Linked DNA regions of Homo sapiens: regions 2, 3, 4, 5, 6 and 7 are each linked to region 1. Evidence: promoter capture Hi-C in 16 types of primary human blood cells and fetal thymus (Javierre and others, 2016). All regions are on one chromosome and are shown on one strand. The core of a region is centred on a gene start or on the middle of the fragment in contact, and the rest is flanking DNA. Distances in the headings are between cores, read along the strand shown.

Evidence for each region. The method cuts DNA at HindIII sites, captures the fragments that hold promoters and counts their contacts. A CHiCAGO score of 5 or more calls a contact.
Region 2: a contact is called between the fragment with the promoter of SLAIN1 here and the fragment with the promoter of DIS3 in region 1, in 1 of 17 cell types (non-activated CD4 T cells). The highest score is 8.5, in non-activated CD4 T cells.
Region 3: a fragment that was not itself captured here is called in contact with the fragment with the promoter of DIS3 in region 1 in 1 of 17 cell types (total B cells); the score reaches 5.6 in total B cells.
Region 4: a fragment that was not itself captured here is called in contact with the fragment with the promoter of DIS3 in region 1 in 1 of 17 cell types (naive B cells); the score reaches 5.7 in naive B cells.
Region 5: a fragment that was not itself captured here is called in contact with the fragment with the promoter of DIS3 in region 1 in 3 of 17 cell types (naive B cells, total B cells and naive CD8 T cells); the score reaches 5.4 in naive B cells.
Region 6: a fragment that was not itself captured here is called in contact with the fragment with the promoter of DIS3 in region 1 in 4 of 17 cell types (total B cells, naive B cells, monocytes and 1 more); the score reaches 14.3 in total B cells.
Region 7: a fragment that was not itself captured here is called in contact with the fragment with the promoter of DIS3 in region 1 in 1 of 17 cell types (naive B cells); the score reaches 7.1 in naive B cells.

What each region holds. Positions count from the first base shown.
Region 1 is chr13:72,780,592-72,783,193 of GRCh38, reverse strand. It overlaps DIS3 (DIS3 exosome endoribonuclease and 3''-5'' exoribonuclease), which reads left to right and starts at 1,294. Exons shown (of 21, transcript NM_014953.5): 1 at 1,294-1,589; 2 at 2,191-2,348. The coding sequence starts at 1,362. PIBF1 (progesterone immunomodulatory binding factor 1) reads right to left here and starts at 1,061. Exons shown (of 18, transcript NM_006346.4): 1 at 845-1,061. RefSeq lists enhancers at 1,161-1,270, 1,188-2,102 and a silencer at 1,551-1,600. The HindIII fragment of the contact is 4,441 bases long and covers 1-1,727 here.
Region 2 is chr13:77,696,396-77,698,997 of GRCh38, reverse strand. SLAIN1 (SLAIN motif family member 1) reads right to left here and starts at 1,311. Exons shown (of 7, transcript NM_001242868.2): 1 at 459-1,311. The coding sequence starts at 1,084. MIR3665 (microRNA 3665) reads left to right here and starts at 882; the gene lies at 882-986. RefSeq lists silencers at 244-393, 554-793, 994-1,553. The HindIII fragment of the contact is 5,751 bases long and covers 1-2,602 here.
Region 3 is chr13:77,187,231-77,189,832 of GRCh38, reverse strand. It overlaps MYCBP2 (MYC binding protein 2), which reads left to right. Exons shown (of 83, transcript NM_015057.5): 30 at 786-882. Among named protein-coding and RNA genes, the nearest start is that of MYCBP2-AS2, 110 kb to the right of the region's middle. The HindIII fragment of the contact is 4,220 bases long and covers 1-2,602 here.
Region 4 is chr13:77,170,905-77,173,506 of GRCh38, reverse strand. It overlaps MYCBP2 (MYC binding protein 2), which reads left to right. Exons shown (of 83, transcript NM_015057.5): 38 at 1,873-2,015. Among named protein-coding and RNA genes, the nearest start is that of MYCBP2-AS2, 91 kb to the right of the region's middle. The HindIII fragment of the contact is 2,023 bases long and covers 290-2,312 here.
Region 5 is chr13:77,022,530-77,025,131 of GRCh38, reverse strand. The region is part of intron 1 of FBXL3 (F-box and leucine rich repeat protein 3); the gene reads left to right. Among named protein-coding and RNA genes, the nearest start is that of FBXL3, 3.3 kb to the left of the region's middle. The HindIII fragment of the contact is 2,888 bases long and covers 1-2,602 here.
Region 6 is chr13:77,004,582-77,007,183 of GRCh38, reverse strand. It overlaps CLN5 (CLN5 lysosomal BMP synthase), which reads right to left. Exons shown (of 4, transcript NM_006493.4): 4 at 2,067-2,602. It overlaps FBXL3 (F-box and leucine rich repeat protein 3), which reads left to right. Exons shown (of 5, transcript NM_012158.4): 5 at 1-1,924. The coding sequence ends at 39. Among named protein-coding and RNA genes, the nearest start is that of CLN5, 14 kb to the right of the region's middle. The HindIII fragment of the contact is 884 bases long and covers 885-1,768 here.
Region 7 is chr13:76,984,461-76,987,062 of GRCh38, reverse strand. It overlaps the pseudogene DHX9P1. Among named protein-coding and RNA genes, the nearest start is that of CLN5, 6.3 kb to the left of the region's middle. The HindIII fragment of the contact is 307 bases long and covers 1,133-1,439 here.

The DNA of each region.
Region 1 (2,602 bases), core at 45-2,544:
TCTTACTTGGAGGAAACAAAGAAATGTACAAGATGAAGAAAAAAGCCCATTATAATCAAGAATGGCACCACTAAAACCAACACATGCTCAAAGATAACAGAAATCACGTCTGAGTTGGTCAGGGAAACGTTACACAGAGGTAGCACTTAGAATCTTTAAAGATTTGGACAGGCATGGTAAAAAGGAGAAATCATGCAGTTATTAATGATACGTAAGTGGAAGTAAAAAAACAAAGCCAAGTCTTGGAATAGTTACTCCTTTCACCGCCCCCCCAACACAAACACAAACACACACACACACACACACACACACACACACGCCCTTAACGATCAAGACTGGAAGGCCTTAAATGTCAAAATAGGGTTGGATTTTATTCTACAGGCAATGAGGCATCATTGAAGATGTTTTAAATAGGGAAAACGGGGACAAAAACATTTTTTATAGATAGCAGAATGAAAACAACAGGATATAAGAAAAATTCAAGAAATTCTAAATAGAACTTACTTCTAACTCTCTCATAAGAATGTTAGCAACTACCTTGTTTTAATACCTCATGATATAACAAATTATGCTATTAAATATTTCAGTTTTTCTAAACTGAATGATAAGGAAAGGTGTGTGGAGGGGAAACAGCGAGAACTATACTAAGATCGGCCTCCCTCCTTCTTTTTGAAGGGAAATAGGTAAGAAAAAGTGAATTCAAAGACAAATTCTCTCCTCGATTACAAAGGGCCCGAGACGGGGACTGCCTATACACTCGGCGTGAAAATTAAGCCCCAAACTTGGCAGCTCGGGGGATTCCTTGCCCCACGCGGGAAAGAAAGCGATGATAGTCGCAAGTTACCTCGAAAGTGTCAATTACTCCACACTGAAGCCTTGACCAGCAGCCAGTGCAGACACCGAGGGACCAAAGGCGTCTCCGGTCGGAAGCACAAGGTTGCAGGCCCTCAACAAGGGATTTCAAGGCAGGGGACCGTTAGGACCCGTAACCAAGACAACCATCTCCGCACCCGCAAGGAGGACAGAACCAGCACTCCCACAAGCCGCCGGAAGTCAACTCTCCCGGATGTTCCGAGGAGCGGAAAGCAACACACGTTGTGAGGTGGCGTCCAGAAGGAAGCCCCGCCTAGGCCACGGGCGGAAATGGCTCCTCGCCTTGCTTTGCCGCCCCTCCCCACTCTCGCCCAATCCCCGCGGCCGTCAGAGAGCCAACCAATGTTTATCTCGGCATTTTCCCGCGAGAAGTGTTACTAATATCCGGGAATGGAAAGGGAAGAACCTCCGGGGTTAGGCGTATTCTAGATTGACGCCTTTTGCTGGAAGAGCGCTGCTGGGGTTAGGATTCTGCGCGGCGAGGCAAGATGCTCAAGTCCAAGACGTTCTTAAAAAAGACCCGGGCGGGCGGCGTGATGAAGATCGTGCGCGAGCACTACCTGCGAGACGACATCGGCTGCGGTGCGCCCGGGTGCGCAGCGTGTGGAGGGGCGCACGAGGGGCCGGCCCTGGAGCCGCAGCCCCAGGACCCGGCGAGCAGCGTCTGCCCGCAACCGCACTACTTGCTGCCCGACACTAATGTGTTACTGCACCAGGTGCGTGGGCGGGCGAACCGCGGACAGCGCGGCCCCACGGGGACAAGGGGGTATGACAGGGAAACTGAGGCCCAGGGAGGCGGGTCTTTGGCAGTGTCACATACCTAGCGAAAGGGAAACCCCCTCGGGACCGAAGCTTCCTGTTCCCCAGGCCGAGGTTCTTTTCCTTGTGCTTTAAAAAATTTAGTTCTTGGAGTCGTAGTTCAGACACGTTATTTTTCTAACTCCTGGTGTCTCTTCTGCCTTAGATTGTAAGTGCCTGGAGGCCGGGGACCTGGGCTTCTGTGGCCTCCAGCCTGCGACTCCCAGGCAGCTTGTAAGTGCCTAGGAACAAAAAACTATGTGGGCCAACGTATTCCTTTATTAATACCCTTAATTCTACGAAGTCTTGTGATTGGTCTGTTTAAGTGTGCTTTTTTTAATAGATCTGAAGGGTTTAGTGACTATTGTCTCGTTTTCTATAGCCAAATAGCTTCTTGGCTTAACTTATTCAGTGTTTTTAAAACATAAAGTATTTATGCCCAACATAAAACAGGATTTTATGTTTGACAGAGCTATTTACAAATGAATATAGGAAAAATTAACTTTATCTTTCTTTAAGATTGATGTTCTTGAGGACCCTGCCATCAGGAATGTAATTGTGCTACAAACAGTTCTTCAAGAAGTGAGAAATCGCAGTGCCCCCGTATATAAACGCATCCGAGATGTGACTAATAACCAAGAGAAGCATTTCTATACTTTCACTAATGAGCACCATAGGTAGGAGGAATATTACGTTAAATATCAGAAAACCACAGGATTAGCAAAATTCGGGAGAGGGTTCCTGTGAGTAATTTATGACATTGTCAGAAGATAAGTGATAGATTTCATACCTTATTTAATTCTTACATGGCTGTGCAGAAGATAATGCTAAGTGGATCTCTCTAAGGTCACACAGGCATTGATGGGCTCAAGCCTAAAACCAAGGTCTGCTGACTCCTAGACTACAATAGGTACTTTAATTTCCAAAATGT
Region 2 (2,602 bases), core at 62-2,561, 4.9 Mb before region 1:
ACGCAAATCCTGTCCAGCGTTCGTTTAAAACGAAAGAACAGTAACAGTCGCAGACAGAGGCCAACCCCTACCATCCCCCGTCATCCCTCCGAAAACACTGGGGAAAAGAGCAGCACTGAGCAAAAAGACAAGATGACATGGATTTTGCACTTAATGCTAACGAGGAGCTTGGGACCCAACAATCAGCAAATAGCAGAACCCATGGCAGATGGGGGGAAGGGGGGGCCGGTTCATCCGCAGTCGGAGCGATTAGAAAACAGGTTTCTGCCTTCATGAGAAGCCTCATCGTGGGAAGTGTCACCGCCTGGCTCAACACCTGCTGGGTCGGCCCCTCCGGGAGCCGCGGGGAGTCACCCCGGCTGCCGCGAGGGGACCCCCGTCCGCCCCCCGCCCCCGCTCCCCGGTGCCCGAAGCCCCCGAGGCCAGGGTCTCGGGGAAGGAGCGGAGCCAGGCAGTACCAGGTGTAGTCGTCCTCGTCCCGCCAGGCGGCTACGCTCTCCAGATCCAGCAATTCCACCTCGTCCAGCAGCGTGGGGGGCGGCGAGGGCGGCGCTGCAGCTGCCCCTGGCGGCGTCCCCGCGCCCCCCGGCTCCGGCCCGCCACCGCCCGCGCCGAAGAAGCCTGCTGCCGGCTTGAAGTAGACGAAGGGCGCCTCGGGTGGCTGCGCCAGGCTGCAAAGCAGGGAGGGCGCGGGGCTAGGCAGGCAGAAGGTGCCCGGGAACGCGGGGCTGGAGCCACCGCCGCTGCCACTACCGCTGCCGCCACCGCCCCCCGCGCCCAGCGCCAGCCCGAGCCCCAGGCCCCCTGAGGCCGCGGCGGTGGCCGTGGCGGCCGGGGGGCTCCGAGGACCCAAAGGCTGCAGGCCAGCGGGGGGCGGCGCGGCGGGCGGCGGCGGCGGCAGCAGCAGCAGGTGCGGGGCGGCGGCCGCGCTGGCCGCTCGACTCCGCAGCTGCTCGTTCTGCTTCTCCAGCTTGCGCACCAGCTCCTGCAGCTTCTTCACCTCCAGCTCCGCGTTCACCACCGGCCCGGAGCCCGCTCCAGAGCTGACCCCTGCCGAGGCGCATTTCACCTGCTCCGCCATCATCGTGGGCCCCGAGGGCGCCGCGGCCGCCGGGGAGTGCGCGCCGCCGCGCCGGCTCCTCGGGCCACGGGGAGGCTACGGCTCCTTCCCTGTCGCCCCGGCCTGGGGGGCCGACCACGCGCGGGCTGAGGCCGAGCCGGCGGTTCGCATCAGCACCGGGCCCTCGCCTCCGGCCGCGGCAGCCACCACCGAGCTGATCTGCACATGCTCAGTGCGTCCCTCCAGTCCCCTGGGCGTCGCGGCGGCTCCGGGTTTTAGCCGCGGCCCCGGAGCGGGGCGGGGCAAGAGCGCCGAGGGGGCGGGTGGGGGGGGGGGGGCGGAGAACCGTGGGGAAGCCCACCCAGGGGGCGGGGCCGGCAGCCCGGGTTGGGGCCGGGGAGCCGCACCCACCCTCGCTACCTAATCCCAGGGGCCTGATTGGACCTGGCCTGAACTTTCCCGCCACAAGCACCTCCTCCTGCCGCTTGGTGGGACAGTGAACTGCGCGGGTCTCTGAGGCGGTTGCGGGGACCAGGGGGTTCCCAAAGAAGCAGCTGCAGGTGCTGGCCCTCGAGTAGTGCACCACCGGCCCGCTGGTTTGCTCCCTTCCCAGCTCTCTGTTAGGCTCCGTGACAGCACTTAATAGCCACTGGCTAACGAATCCTATAGAAAACTTAAAGGCTGGGGATCGTTATTCTAAAAACCGAAAAGTGGAGATAGGGGGAACAGAAAGGCTTTGGGACCATGCCACTCATGTTCTCATTGGTAATAGAGAAGCAAAATGGTGGGAGACAGGAGACCGAGAAGAAAGAGAAGAAAGCCCTCTCTCTAAGAGGTAGAGTGGCCAGCTGCTAAGGAGACAAGTGTTTACTTATTTATTCTAAAATAGTCAAATTTGAACTGTTACCATCATTGTTTGTCACAATAAAAGAAGAACTGCTTTTTTTTTCATACTATGTATATTCATGCATTCCCCAAACAAAAGATCTTTGAGCACCTACTCTGTGCCAGGAACCATTCTAAGAGCTCGTGATGCGGGCAATGAGTACAATAGGCAAAAATGGTTATGGGGAGAAATATGAGTAAAATTGTTTAGTGCTCCTTCTATTAAATAATGTGTAAGTTATTAAAGTCAGACTTGCTGGTGGGAAAGCAGAAAACAGAAAACCTCAGAATTCTACCCAATACACTTTAATCTCACCTGCAAACCTGCTATTTCTTACCACTTGGAAAACGAGCAAATCTGCTTTTTTTAAAAGAGGCTTTTAAGCAGAAGAATTTAATCGAGTTGTGTTCAATGAATACTGACTGACTTAGCATTTTGAGTGTTTAACACAATCAGAGGAAAACCTGAGATTATATTATGAGAAAAATCTACACCACTGGTTCTCATCCTCAGATGATATACTATCTAGTGAAAGTCCTTGCTAGGGACTTTACATACCAATCTTTGTGACAATGTACCTCATTTCTCTGGAGCTGCTAACACATCGTATCTATTGGTTTCAGATATGGTTTTGTGTCTTCCTGCTCAGAAACACT
Region 3 (2,602 bases), core at 32-2,531, 4.4 Mb before region 1:
GGAAAATTCCCTACTGTTGGTAAATTTTCACCTTTAGCTAAAATACCAAATAATAACTTGCTCATATAATATTTACTATATTTTTAACATTATTGAAAAATTTTAACTTACAATAATTTAAGCATGTATAAAGGCATATGCCTGTGTTTACCTTATTTATTTCTAGACTACTGCAATACTTTTAGAATAAAGAATTCAAATGGATATAAACCGTTACTGAAAAATGTTGTCATTCGTTAAGCAGTAAAAAATCAAAGGAAATGGTCTAGAACTGTGATTCTATCTCCCTATCTTTCTTTCTGGTAATCACTTTGTGGTTACAAACATTATTTTTCCCCAAAAGGTTTTTTCGTTTGTTTGGTTTTTATGCACCGTGCAATCTGTTATAGTTACTGTTTGTAATATGTAGCTCTACAAACATAACGTGTTGCATTGGACTACTCCCAGGTACTCACTGGTTGAATAACTTTTAAATAACAGCATTAATAGTAGCATTACTAGAGAATATAAGTTATATGTTATATACATTATATATGTTCTCTAAGAAGAGGAAAAAGCCTCTACTACTCGGTCTTGCGAAGGTAGGATTTAAAGGAAGTGCCCATATGCTAAAAACTTTGTTTAGCTTGGAAAAATGTTTCAAAAAAGCCCTGTATTGGCATTACCTGGCAAAAAAATTTAAATATATAATTTATTTTCCCATTCAAAAATGTATAATATACTTTAAAAAGAAAAAATGACATTGGACTTTCTAACATAATTTTATATGTGTCTACTGCCTTTAGACTTCCAACCAGTGATGGCAGTGCTTCAAAAGGCAAACAGCAAACCAGTGAACCTGTACACATTTTAAAGAGGTCTTTTGCAAGAACTGTCTCAGTGGTAAGCCATGTTTTAAAAAATTTCAGCTTTTCTCTTCAGTCCTCAGATACATTTTGATGTTTAGAGTTTAGCTGCTCTTGTAAGTTTATCTTAGCCTAGATTTATAAACTCAGATTTGGTTTTGTATTCACATTTATATTCTAGACCACAGATAAAGTATACTTTAAATCATAGAAAAATGGAGGTGTTGGCCTATGATTTTAACATGACCAGATGAATTGGCCTTGCTGTTTTTGAAACAAATAACGATTTGCTTTTCTAGTAAATCATATATGAATGCATATGCTGAATGAATTAGAAAATGAAGGAAAAGTTAAGGATGGTGCTGGCCCAAAAAAGCGTGATTACTACTTGAGGAACTAGGTGGAAGAGTTGCATATCTAACTAGGAAGTTTGTTGAACCACTTGCCATCCCCATTGTACACATGAAGAAGCACAGTGCCATTGAGGTTAACAGTGCAGAATGGAAAGTCAACATGATGTAAATAAATGAAAGTATAAATTAAGGTCTTGATCTCTCATGTATTAATTGAGGATTCTTACGTATGTTACCTAAGTAAATTACATCATAGCATTTTGAATTTCTAATGAGATAAGGGGTGTAAGATGTTTTTGGAACTGTAAGGCACCATCTGAATGTGATTTATTAATATAGCTAGTAGTCTTTCATATTAGTAAAATGCATAGGAAGAATGTTTCTTTCCCTTTTAAATTTATTTTTCAACCCACCAAGTGAATATATATTCCTGGTAGGAATGAGATAAAAGTATCCTAAAAGTATATGAAAGATTTTTCTCCCATTCTCATGATCACCATATATACCTACTATTTACATTTTGGTGTGTATCTTCCCAGACCTTTTTTTTTTTTTTTTTTTGGTGAGGCAGAGTCTCGCTCTGTCGCCCAGGCTGGAGTGCAGTGGCACGATCTTGGCTCACTGCAACCTCCGCGTCCTGAGTTCAAGCAATTCTCCTGCCTCAGCCTCCTGAGTAGCTGGGATTACAGGCGCCTGCCACCACGCCCAGCTAATTTTTGTATTTTTAGTAGAGAGGGGGTTTCACCATGTTGGTGGTGGTCTCGAACCCCTGACCTCGAACAGGCTGGTCTCGAACCCCTGACCTCATGACCCACCCGCCTCGGCCTCCCAAAGTGCTGGGATTACAGGTGTGAGCCACCGCACCCGGCCTTCCCAGACCATTTTTATATGCAAAAAAACTTATTAGTACGTATCAAATACAGGATGCTCTACAACATGCTTGCTTGTTTCTTACGATACTTACAGTTTTCATCTTTTTTAGAAAATTTCGTATTATATATCATGGACATCCTTCCCTGGCAGTACATTTGGCTCTGTCAGTCTTCTCCGTTTGCGTACCATTATTCTAATTTATTCAATCTGATATCTATCAAAGAACCACTTTGATTCTCATTTTTTGTTATTTCATCTTGCTTCATGAGCATCTATACACATACATCTTTAAATACTTGTGTACTTATGTGCATACTTCTACTGGAAATATGCCCATTTAAAGTTTGGTATATCCTCTCAAAGTTGACCTTCCAAAAGAGCCATGGCAGTTTGTAGAGCTTGTGCTTTGAATAAAAGACTATGAGAACTTTGGCTTCTTGGTAACTTTGCATCCTATTAGTCTTAAGTTGAGTTTGGTATCTTTTGATTCAAATAAGGATCTTTGACTCTGTTATGCTTTCTTTAGTGATC
Region 4 (2,602 bases), core at 52-2,551, 4.4 Mb before region 1:
GAAATAGAATAGAAATAGCAGGCAGCAAATAGCTATGTAGTTCATTGTTGCTGCTGAAATACAAAAGCTGTCTAGTCTTTTGCCCCAGTCAAGAAAAGCTTTCTGTTACATAAGCACTACAATAAATAGTACATTATTCTCTTTCTTAAACTATGGATTAAAAACTCTGTTATGCGTAAGAGTTACGTGTTTCAGAAAGCTGGAGAGCCACTAAGAGCATCTGCCATCCAAACTTTATATCTTATACAAAATACAGTGTTTTGAGTATTTTCATGTTTTCTATTAAGCTTTAAATACCCTTAGCTTTACATTTTTTATAAATGAAAAATGTTAAAGTCCTTTAGTTTTAAATACCATCCTGCTCTGATAGCTCCCAAGTTTACATCCCTAGCCTTCATGACCTCTGAGCCCTGGACTCCGGGTCTCTCTTCTGACATCTTCATTTGGATGACACTAGTGGAGATGGTGTTAGTTACTGTGTGCCAGGACATGCTTTGAGTATGTTACCTGTGTTATTTCACCTTGTCCTCACAGTAACCCCAGGAGGTAGGTACTTTCCTTATCCCTGTTTCACAGATGATGGAACTGAGACGCTGAATTGTCTAGAGTCACACCTCTGTTAAGTTACGCTACTGCGACTTGTAGGCAGGAAGTCAGATTTCAGGTGATACACCCTTAACCAGAATGCTGCACTTTCTCTTTAAGGATGTTCGTTATAGTTGGCTAGTAGACATCTGAGGTTTCATGTGGCTAGAATATTCATCTCCCTTCCACAGTTACAGCCAGACACCTTGGAGTCATTCTGGACTTCTCTTTCCCTCATACTTTACACCTAGTTCATCAAGAAGTCCTGTCAGCTGTACTTCTAAAATGTCCTAAATGTGACCTTTTCTTCTACTTCCATATTTAATAGTCTAGACCAAGCCACTGCAACCTCTACCTGCTAACTGTAATAAGCCTCTAAACTAGTCTCCCTCCTTTCACTATTGGTCTCCTACAATCAGTTCTCTACAGCACAGCCAGAGTGATCTGATAAAAATATAAATCATACCAAGTTCCACCCTTGCTCCAAACCCAGCTTCCCATTCTCATACCAGTATAAAATGTAAAGTCATTATGTGGCCTACAAACCTTACACAATTTGACTCTTGTTTCCCTTCCCACCCATCACGCTTCACTCTTTCTCCTTTTCTTCCAGCCATACATGTCTTCATTCTGTTCCTTTAATTCACCAGTATGTTCCTTTTGCCCTGACAGTTTTCCCTCAGCTCTTCGCGTGGGTCTTTAAAAAAAAAAAAAAATTCAGGTCAGCTGGGTGCGCGGCTCACTCCTATAATCCCAGCACTTTGGGAGTCCAAGATGGGTGGATCACGAGGTCAGGAGTTTGAGACCAGCCTGGCCAACGTGGTGAAACCCCATCTCTACTAAAAACAGAAAAATTAGCTGGGCGTGGTGGTGCATGCCTATAATCCCAGCTATTTGGGAGGCCGAGGGAGGAGAATCGCTTGAACCTGGGAGGCGGAGGTTGCAGTGAGCCGAGATCATGCCACTGCACTCCAGCCTGGGCGACAGAGCAAGACTCTGTCTCAAATAAGTAAATAATTTAATTAATTAATTCAGGTCTTTGTTAAATATGAGTTCCTCGGAGAACTGATCTTATTTAAAATAACACCCTTCACTTTATGCCCTATGCTGCTTTGTTTTTCTTCAAAGCCCTTATCATTCCCTATTATTGTATAGTTGCATGTTTACTTTTTTAACTTTTAAAAAGCTATAAATTAAATGAGGATCTCAGATCTAGATATGATTTCTGGCACTGGATCATGTTTTACTTACCATTGTAAAATAATCTCATGTTTGCTCATGCTACAGGAGTGAATTTGATGGAGATTTACAATCCCAACTTCTGAGTAAAGCCAATGAAGAAGATAAAAACTGTAGCAGAGCATTGTCTGTTGTAAGCACTGTCGTTCGAGCCTCTAAGGACCTCCTGCACAGAGCTCTTGCTGTGGATGGTAATATTTTTTCTTTCTCAGTAGTCATATTTTAGATTCTTTATTCACTAAATTTTTGCATAGAATTATTGAAGAGGAGCCTTCTATTATACAATTTTATAGAATCTAAGTGTTATTTATAGATCCACCCATGGATTAATTTTGGATAGGTCACACTCTCCATACTGTAATGCAGAATTATTTAGAATGCTCAAAAGGAGTTACCATATATTCTTATTTTCTTAGTTAATTTAGTAAAAGAAAAATTGTATTTGAGTTAAACTGGGTCTTTATTCTTCTTTTAGTAATCAAAAAGCTTTTTCTTCCTCTCTGTTCTTTTTCCAGTAATGTATCGCTATCCACCCAAAACTCTGGGGTACCCTAACCATCTCCTCAGAGGCACTTGTCTAAATTCAGCTCTATGAGTTTTTCCATTGGAATCTCTCTAGTTTGTATTCTCCTCTCTTTCACTTCTTCTCCTGCTGTCATTTAGACTGCCATGGTGCAAGTACATTTCATTTTTTAATATAGGGTTAATATCCCGATAATCTCACTGCTGCCTTTCCCCCATTCTCCATCTAGTTGTTTAGTTATTCTTCACACTGGCA
Region 5 (2,602 bases), core at 47-2,546, 4.2 Mb before region 1:
AAAGTAGGAATTATAGGGTCCATTGATGTAAATTATTTGCAGGCTGGAAGATGCTCTGAGATGTTTAATTTTATGTATAGCAGAGTTTCATGTGTAAATAGATTTAATAAGATACTATTAAAGTAGTGTAAATTTTTTCATACATAAATGAAATCAACTTGGAAAAATTGACATTTAAAATTTTAAGTGTCCACTCACTTCTGTTATTTTCATGCACAAATGAGGATAGTGCAGAGGATATTTTTATTGGAATTTGGCCTTACATTTTTTTCAATTGCTTAATGCACTATAATTGTAACATAGACATATTACGTATGACAATTAACAGACTTAATTCAGCTATTTGTAAACTGGTAAGTTCTTAAAATAGGCTTTGGTGATCATATAGTGTTTTTATATCTAGATCAAGAGATACTGTCCCTTAGTGTTGCATACTGTTAAAAAAAATTTTGTCAACTTCTTTAACCTGAACTTGGAAAGGTATTTAAGTACATTTTATTTAAAACAGTACTATAATAGACAAAAGAAAGTTTCTATTTTTAGGACCAGCAAAGTATTTATTAGCAAAGACTATTATGTGAATAAGGCTACCATTTTATTTTTGTTTATATATCCATATACTCTAAAGTAAAATGAATCATTCCGTCTTTAAGTTGTCTAGTTCTGGTTTTAGAAGATTGTTCTCCAGAAACAGGCAATCAGTATTCTATAATAAGGTGTAGAAATTGCAAAGACTGTCATTCTTTTTTGAATCTCTGTATCTCAAAATTGTGAGTAGTTTTAGGTGGTCAGAAGAGAAATTATAAGCTCTGGATAGCAAACACTTTGTTCTTTGACCCAAATTTTATATACTAAAATTAAAGTAAGCCTTCAGGGTAAGTTAAAGCAGAAAAATGGGTCATAATAACAGTGTTATCTCAGCCTCTAGTGAGGGATTATTATTAGAAGAGACTTAATATTAAAGATTACAGTGTAGACTATACACTTTTCTCTAAACTTATTAAAAAAAAACTAATCTCAAGTCACACATAATTTCCAGTCTTCCATCAGACTACCTTCTTGCTGTCACCTCTGTCATTCTATTTTCTCTCTTGTTCTCTCCCTGATCAGTAGGGTATACGTAATATATTTTATTCACATAGTTGGGAATAGGAGCAGTGAAGAATAGGCAGTTTATTGCACATATGCTAAGACGTCTTTGACTGACTTTCATGGCATTAAGGTCAGAGGCCTCTGCCATTCTCTTTTTACTCTCCAGCCCTCAATCCTCTTTCACAAGTTTTGCGAGGTACTGGGTGGAGAAAGTCTGCAGAAACATTTGTTTTACAGTAATGCATATGCATATCCTTCATCTCACACAGGAATGAGAAATTCTTTTATGCTGATAGGCCAGAGGAGTGTTGGAGCAACAAGCCATCTTTCTGAAAGATTGTGACCCCAAGTTTAGGTCGAAACCACTACCCTGCCAGAACTGTTCTCTAGAAACAAAAGTATTACAGGCTCTGAACTAAGTAACTACCAGTGAGTGGTCTGCAGCCATTTAGTTTAGAGCCTGCTATACTTTTCCAAAAAGTCCGATTACACGGTAATGCATTGATAGTAAAAGAAAATGTGTAAAACATAAAAAGGGAAGAGATGTTTGCAAGAAAAAAAAATTACCTGTAATCTGCCGTCTACTGTTGGTTACTATAATAATTCAGTGAGTCTACTTCCAGGGTGTGTTTTCTCGTACACAAGCTCACTTGCCCTGTCTCTCTGACACACACACACACACACACACACACACTCTCTCTCTCTCCATTTTAAAGCAAAAATAGAGTCGGGTGTGGTGGTGCATGCAGATACTCTGGAGGCTGAGGTGGAAGGATTGCTTGATCTCAGGAGGTCGAGGCTGCAGTGAGCCATGATCGTGCCACTGCACTCCAGCCTGGGTGACAGAGCGAGACCCCATCTTGAATGAATGAGTGAACGGAATGAATGAATGAGTGAACGGAATGAATGAATGAATCATTCTCTGCCTTCTGGGTAGTAACCCTGGTTTTTAGCATGTTGTGTACTTTAATGTCGTTAATGCTGGACTGCTTTCCTACACAACAGTCATATCTCAACAGTTCAACAGTCGTATCTCCCCTTTGAAAAGCCTTAATAGTATTGCATTTCTCACAGAAACCCTGTTTTATTAAACTAATTTTGGAAATTTAAGCACAGGAATATCAAGTAATTTGCTCAAAGCCACATAGCCAGTGAGAGGTAGAGCCAGAATTCAAACCCAAGGAGCTTGGTTCCAGAGCCCATTCTCTTTAGCCATAATACTGTTTTGCCATGAAAAAACTATCTTTCAAAGAAACTAATGGAATGAAAGTGCTAAGAATACATAGAATAAACAAATAGGTATAATTCAGAAACACAACTTGGGGAAAACAGTGCAATATTAAGTGATGTGTTTGAAGAAGCAGCTACATTCCAGACCAAACAATTCATAGTAGGGGTGGTTTTGCTTATTTTAGGCGGAGTTAAGAAATGTCTGGCAGTAACACATAGCATAGCCCAGTGCCTGTCCGTGGCAGGGGGTGATTTCAGGAAGAAACTGTTCCACCTCAGA
Region 6 (2,602 bases), core at 77-2,576, 4.2 Mb before region 1:
GGTAGGGTGTGGTTTCCCGACATGATGCCCACTTGGTAAAAACTGCATGATGAATAGCACCTTAATTTCAAGCAAATGTATTATAATTAAAGTTTTATTTGCTGTAGTTCTGATATAATTCTACTATTTTGTGGCACAGAAATTTGATATCTTCAGTCAGTATATGTAAAGATTGTTTATCGGAAGACCCATGAATGAGTTTTGGTCAGAAAATTCCACTTGTTTCCTTAGTGTAATAGCAGTCATATCTCCGAATTTTTTTTAATGTGGTTCGGATGTGAAATAACCAGTTATACGTATTAAACAGTTTACAGTCTAAAGGAAACAAAACCTATATGTTATAATATCCAAGAAGTACTAATAGGTTTTCTGAAATGTTATATTCTCTATGCATTTAAAAAAAAATGTAAACTTGACATTTTAGGGTCTTCAGTTACACATACACCTGTTATAAGGTGTTTAATATAGCTCAGGAAAGTGAGCATTTTGTGAGAAAAATGAATATATCATATCTAATGGAAAAGATTGGATGAATGTTCTCAAATGTTACAAAGCTGTTTAAAGAAAAAGGTATATATAAGTAATCAGAACACTTAGAAGACTGATAGATGTCACACAGTGGTATTATAGAAGGATAATACAGAGCCAAGATCAAATTAAAAGACAATAAATGGAACAGAAGGGAGGCAGTGTTTAGCTTTGTATAAACTTTTAGGTTTGCTCTGTAATCTGCTAAACCATATACATTCTTTTGTGATATGTTATTATGTATGTGGCACTTGAGGCACTGTATGTAAAGTAAGGAATGCTTTACTAGTTCTCCTTGGTTTTATCTTTGTTTAAACTAGCTTTAAAGTATTAAACAATAATTGAAATGAAAAGCTTACCTATTTTAAAAAGCCAAATTTAAATAAATATAGAACTTTAAAATGTTTATCAGTTGTTTCCATGAAAGAATATTAGTTTCCAGTAAATTTTAGTGATGGCTCACTCACTTTTCTATTTTGGAATTACATAGTTATGTAAGTAAAATTTTTAAAAATCATAAAGGGAGCACCATTGTACAGTCTAGCATAAACAGCAAATTTTAAAGAGGACATATTTAAGTTCATAATCATATTTTTCAGTAAATATTGCTCAGTGAACTGGAAAACTTTAATAGAAAAATGTCTGCAGTTTTGTGATTGTTAATTTGGTTAAACCGATATTTTATATTATTTAAGTTAGGTAACATTTTATATTACTTTCATATGAATAAAAGTAATCCATGCATTGTAGAGTCTATAAAATGTTGAGTTTTAAAAGATGATATAAACTTTGATGCTGGGCACTAGTGCTAGTAGATATTACTACCCTCCTGAGGGAAATCAGAAATGATTTAACCCCGGTGGAATACATTAATTCTTAAAGCGGCTCTTTTCAGTGGTGTGACTTTTAGATTGTGTCTCAGTGGTTGAGGAAGCTAACAGTCTTAGATCTACTTTTAAAACGGATGGCCTTCTTAAGAATAAAGCAAAAGGTGATTTTCTACATAATTTTTGCTTTCCAAAAGTGATGATATGCTCTCCTACAGCAACATATGAGAAGAAAAAAGGCTTATCTAGATTCGAAAATTAACAGCAATTATAGTAATATATCCCCTCCTTCTAAATAGTAAAAAGCTCTGATTGTACAAGAATTACCTGTGCTAGTCAAGTTGTTGTTTTTCCTTGAACAACTTTGGAAAAATGGATTTGACAGTACATAATCAGTTCTACTAACCAAAGCTTGTATTTGGAAATTTACTTTTTGTACAAATTGAATTATATAATGCTTAAAATACTTTGTCACTTTATAAGCAAAATGCATAGTACTTAATTTGTTTATACTGTAAAGTATATGTTAAATGCTTTTATCACTTTGAGAATAAAAAGTTACTAATGCTGTTGTATTTTACTTTTTAAAAACTACACAAACATTTGACTTTAAACTTAAAAATGTTTCAAATCCATATTTGATGGATATAATATTTAATATTAAACAATGTTTATGATAGACTCGCCTTTTTGAAGATACAAGGTTAGGCTCATGGAATCTATTCTTGAAATAAGCTCTGATGCCTAAAGAAATAGGAAATTTAAAACCTACCATGAAATATAAATTTTTAAATTTTTATACAGAAAATAATAGGTTCTTTCTGCATTCAGAATGAGAACTTATAAAACAGATTATTTAGACATAGAATCAGTCTTTAAGGGTCCTTGAACCCAACCAGTCTTTTTAGAGATAAATGTCTTTATATAAATTAGAATAGTTTTTCAACTATTGAAATTATTTTCATTGTTTTACTGGCTTTCAACTTATCTTGGTAATTTGGGCTGTTGTAACCATATCAGAAAAAATAGGTATGATTGAAGATTAAGTCAATTTAGTGCATTTTAAGAACTTTAGGCTGAAAGGAAGACGTTCATGTGAAGAAGGTTCAAGCCTCCACTAGGTCCTTTAAAATTTTTTTTTTTTACACTAGGTCCTTTAACACACTATAATTTCTACCCCACACATAGATAGTAATGAGCTTTGCACAGACTCCAACCCCAGTTTGTGGGGCTGGTTTTAATTTTAC
Region 7 (2,602 bases), core at 37-2,536, 4.2 Mb before region 1:
GCAAAGAGTTTCACTTTCTGCTTGCAGGAGTCAACGACATAAACATCATTTATGATAATGCTTGTTTCAGCAATATTTGTGGACAAAATAACCTTGGTTACTCCAACTGGTACTGGATCAAACACTTTGCGCTGTTCCTGTCAAGGAATCTGAGAATGCAGAGGTAGAATCTGATACTGATGGCTTCCAAAATGTGGATTCATTTCCAAATGCTTCTGCATAGTATAAATCAAATTCCAGCCAGGCAAAAATACCAACACAGCTCTGGGAATATTAAGGGTTTCAATGTACTTAAAGAGAGCTTCGACGAGTTCAAAAGGAGTTTCTTTTTCATTCAATTGAGACATGCTCATCCTTGTTTCTGGACCATATTCATCACCACAGATCAAGTTGCAATTTGCATCATCATCCTCACCACCATCATCATCCTTGTCCTTCTTCTTGGTTTTCGGTGAAGGAACAAAGTGGGTCATCTGAATGCAGTCTTCCAGAAAATATTCTTGAACTGGGTAAGTCCTCCCATACACTTAAATGATGGGGCAATTGAAGAAATATTCACACAACATGCTGGTATCAATAGAAGTGGACATAAGAACAATGAGAACTTCAGGGTAAGCTGAAACAACTTCACGCAGTACTACCAAAAGGAAGTCAGTATTAATGTCTCTTCCATGTATTTCATCTACAATTACATGACTGATTCCTCAAATGCCTGCTTCTAATTTTCTTAGGAGCACACCTACAGTACAAAGCATTATACTGGCATGAGGACAAGGAAGTACAGACTCAAATTGAACACTGTAACCACAGCTTTTTACAGACTCTTCTCCTCTCTCAAATGCAACTCACTCTGCCATGGAAACTACACTGATTCTTCTGGGCTGAGTTACTACAATGTTACACTCTGCTGTCAGTCATTCTGGATAAAGTCATCTAGAATGAACTGGGGAACCTGCGTGGTTTTACCACATCCAGCAGCCCCTCTAATAATGACAACTGAATTTTGACTGATTGCTTCCAGAATCTCACTTTCAAATTTCTTCACAGGCAGTAACTCTCGCTCCTGCAAGATTGCTGGCAAATCATGATCCTGTTCCAACTGGTACACCAATTCATTCTTGAGGTCCAAGCTTATTTGCTCTGGAGAAGCAAAAGCCAGAGGTCCCTCAGCAATGTCGCTAGTAGTCCAAGGATTCCATCTGGATTGTGGAGGTGACCGAGGAACTATACCCACTTGGTTTTGTCACTGAGATGGTTCAAAGTGAGCCAATTTGCCAATGTTGAGTGCAACTGGCATAGAAGGATCTTCAGGCGGGGGCATAATCTCAAAATTTAGCTCTCAAATGATGTTTTGTGGCTGATGCTCTAAATCTTGAGAGAGGTTTACTTTGTAAGGTTCCACTCTCTCTCCTTCCTTCTTTGTAAGTCTGAAGTAAGCTTCAACCACTCCAAGATGGTAGAGTTGTCTGACTAGTGACAGGGCACAGGACTGTGCTGCCAATTTCTTATTTGATCCATGTTCATGTGCAGAAATCCTTCTGCCCAGCTGCTTGATGTAAATGGTTATTTCTGCAGTAAAGCTCCTGTTGTGATCAGGACCCACTTGGGTGTACTTATATTCTCCTTGGATTTTTTCTTTCTGAAAATATTGGTTTAGATGAGTTTTAGCATTTTCCAAGGTCCAGTTTCCATGAAGCCCAGCATTTAAATCCACTTCTTCTGACTCTAGAGTCGCTTGCACTTCTTGTTCTTCCTTTCTTGAGTAGTAATCCTTCAAGTTGGCTCCTTGGTCCCAGGAACACCATAGCCAGAGGCCCCTACCTCAGAATTATTTTCAGCTTTGAGAGCCAGATGTGGCGGAAGAGGACCTCCCATGGTTGTTGGTAAACCTCCTTCAGCATTTGCTGTAGTGTCAGGAATATCAGTAAGTGGGGGCAGAGATGCAACCCCAAAAAGCTGGAACTTCTTCACTCTTCATTTATTTGAACCAAATAGTTAACAAAGTCTCTGGCAGCATTGCTCTGTGCATCTTTTTTATTGGTGGAATTTCCTATGCCACTGTAATTATACCCTTCCACCTGAACCTCACACAAGAATTTCTGCCTACTTTTGTTCCCCAATGCTCTAATTTCATAGGATGGAGTCATCTTCCTTTTGCCTCACCAGGCATACAGAAAATTTTTAATATCACCCATGATTGAAGTGTCTTCTTCAGATCAGCCTATGCTTCCTGGTTCCCAGCTCTTAGGACCGTGTGGCTCTGGCCTTCCACAAAGACAACAGAGACACGCACAACAACTTCCATAAAGGACTTGGCAAAAAAAAAAAAATTAAGTAGAAAAGAAAGGAGGTTGTTATGACACTTTATGATTTACTGTGGTTTGAGAGAAGTACTGTTTTCTGGTAATTTTGAGGCTGGTTTTATCAGTCCAGGCTAATGAATACGAGGGCAGATTAAAGTCCAAGCTAATTTTTAGTTTCTCATTTACAATCTCATTTTTTATTTTAGGCGTTAAAAGCATTATTCTGAGAAGGGGCTTCACCAGTTTGCCTAAGAGCTCCGGCCCTAGACACACTAATTTCCTACTCCTTTTTTTCTTTT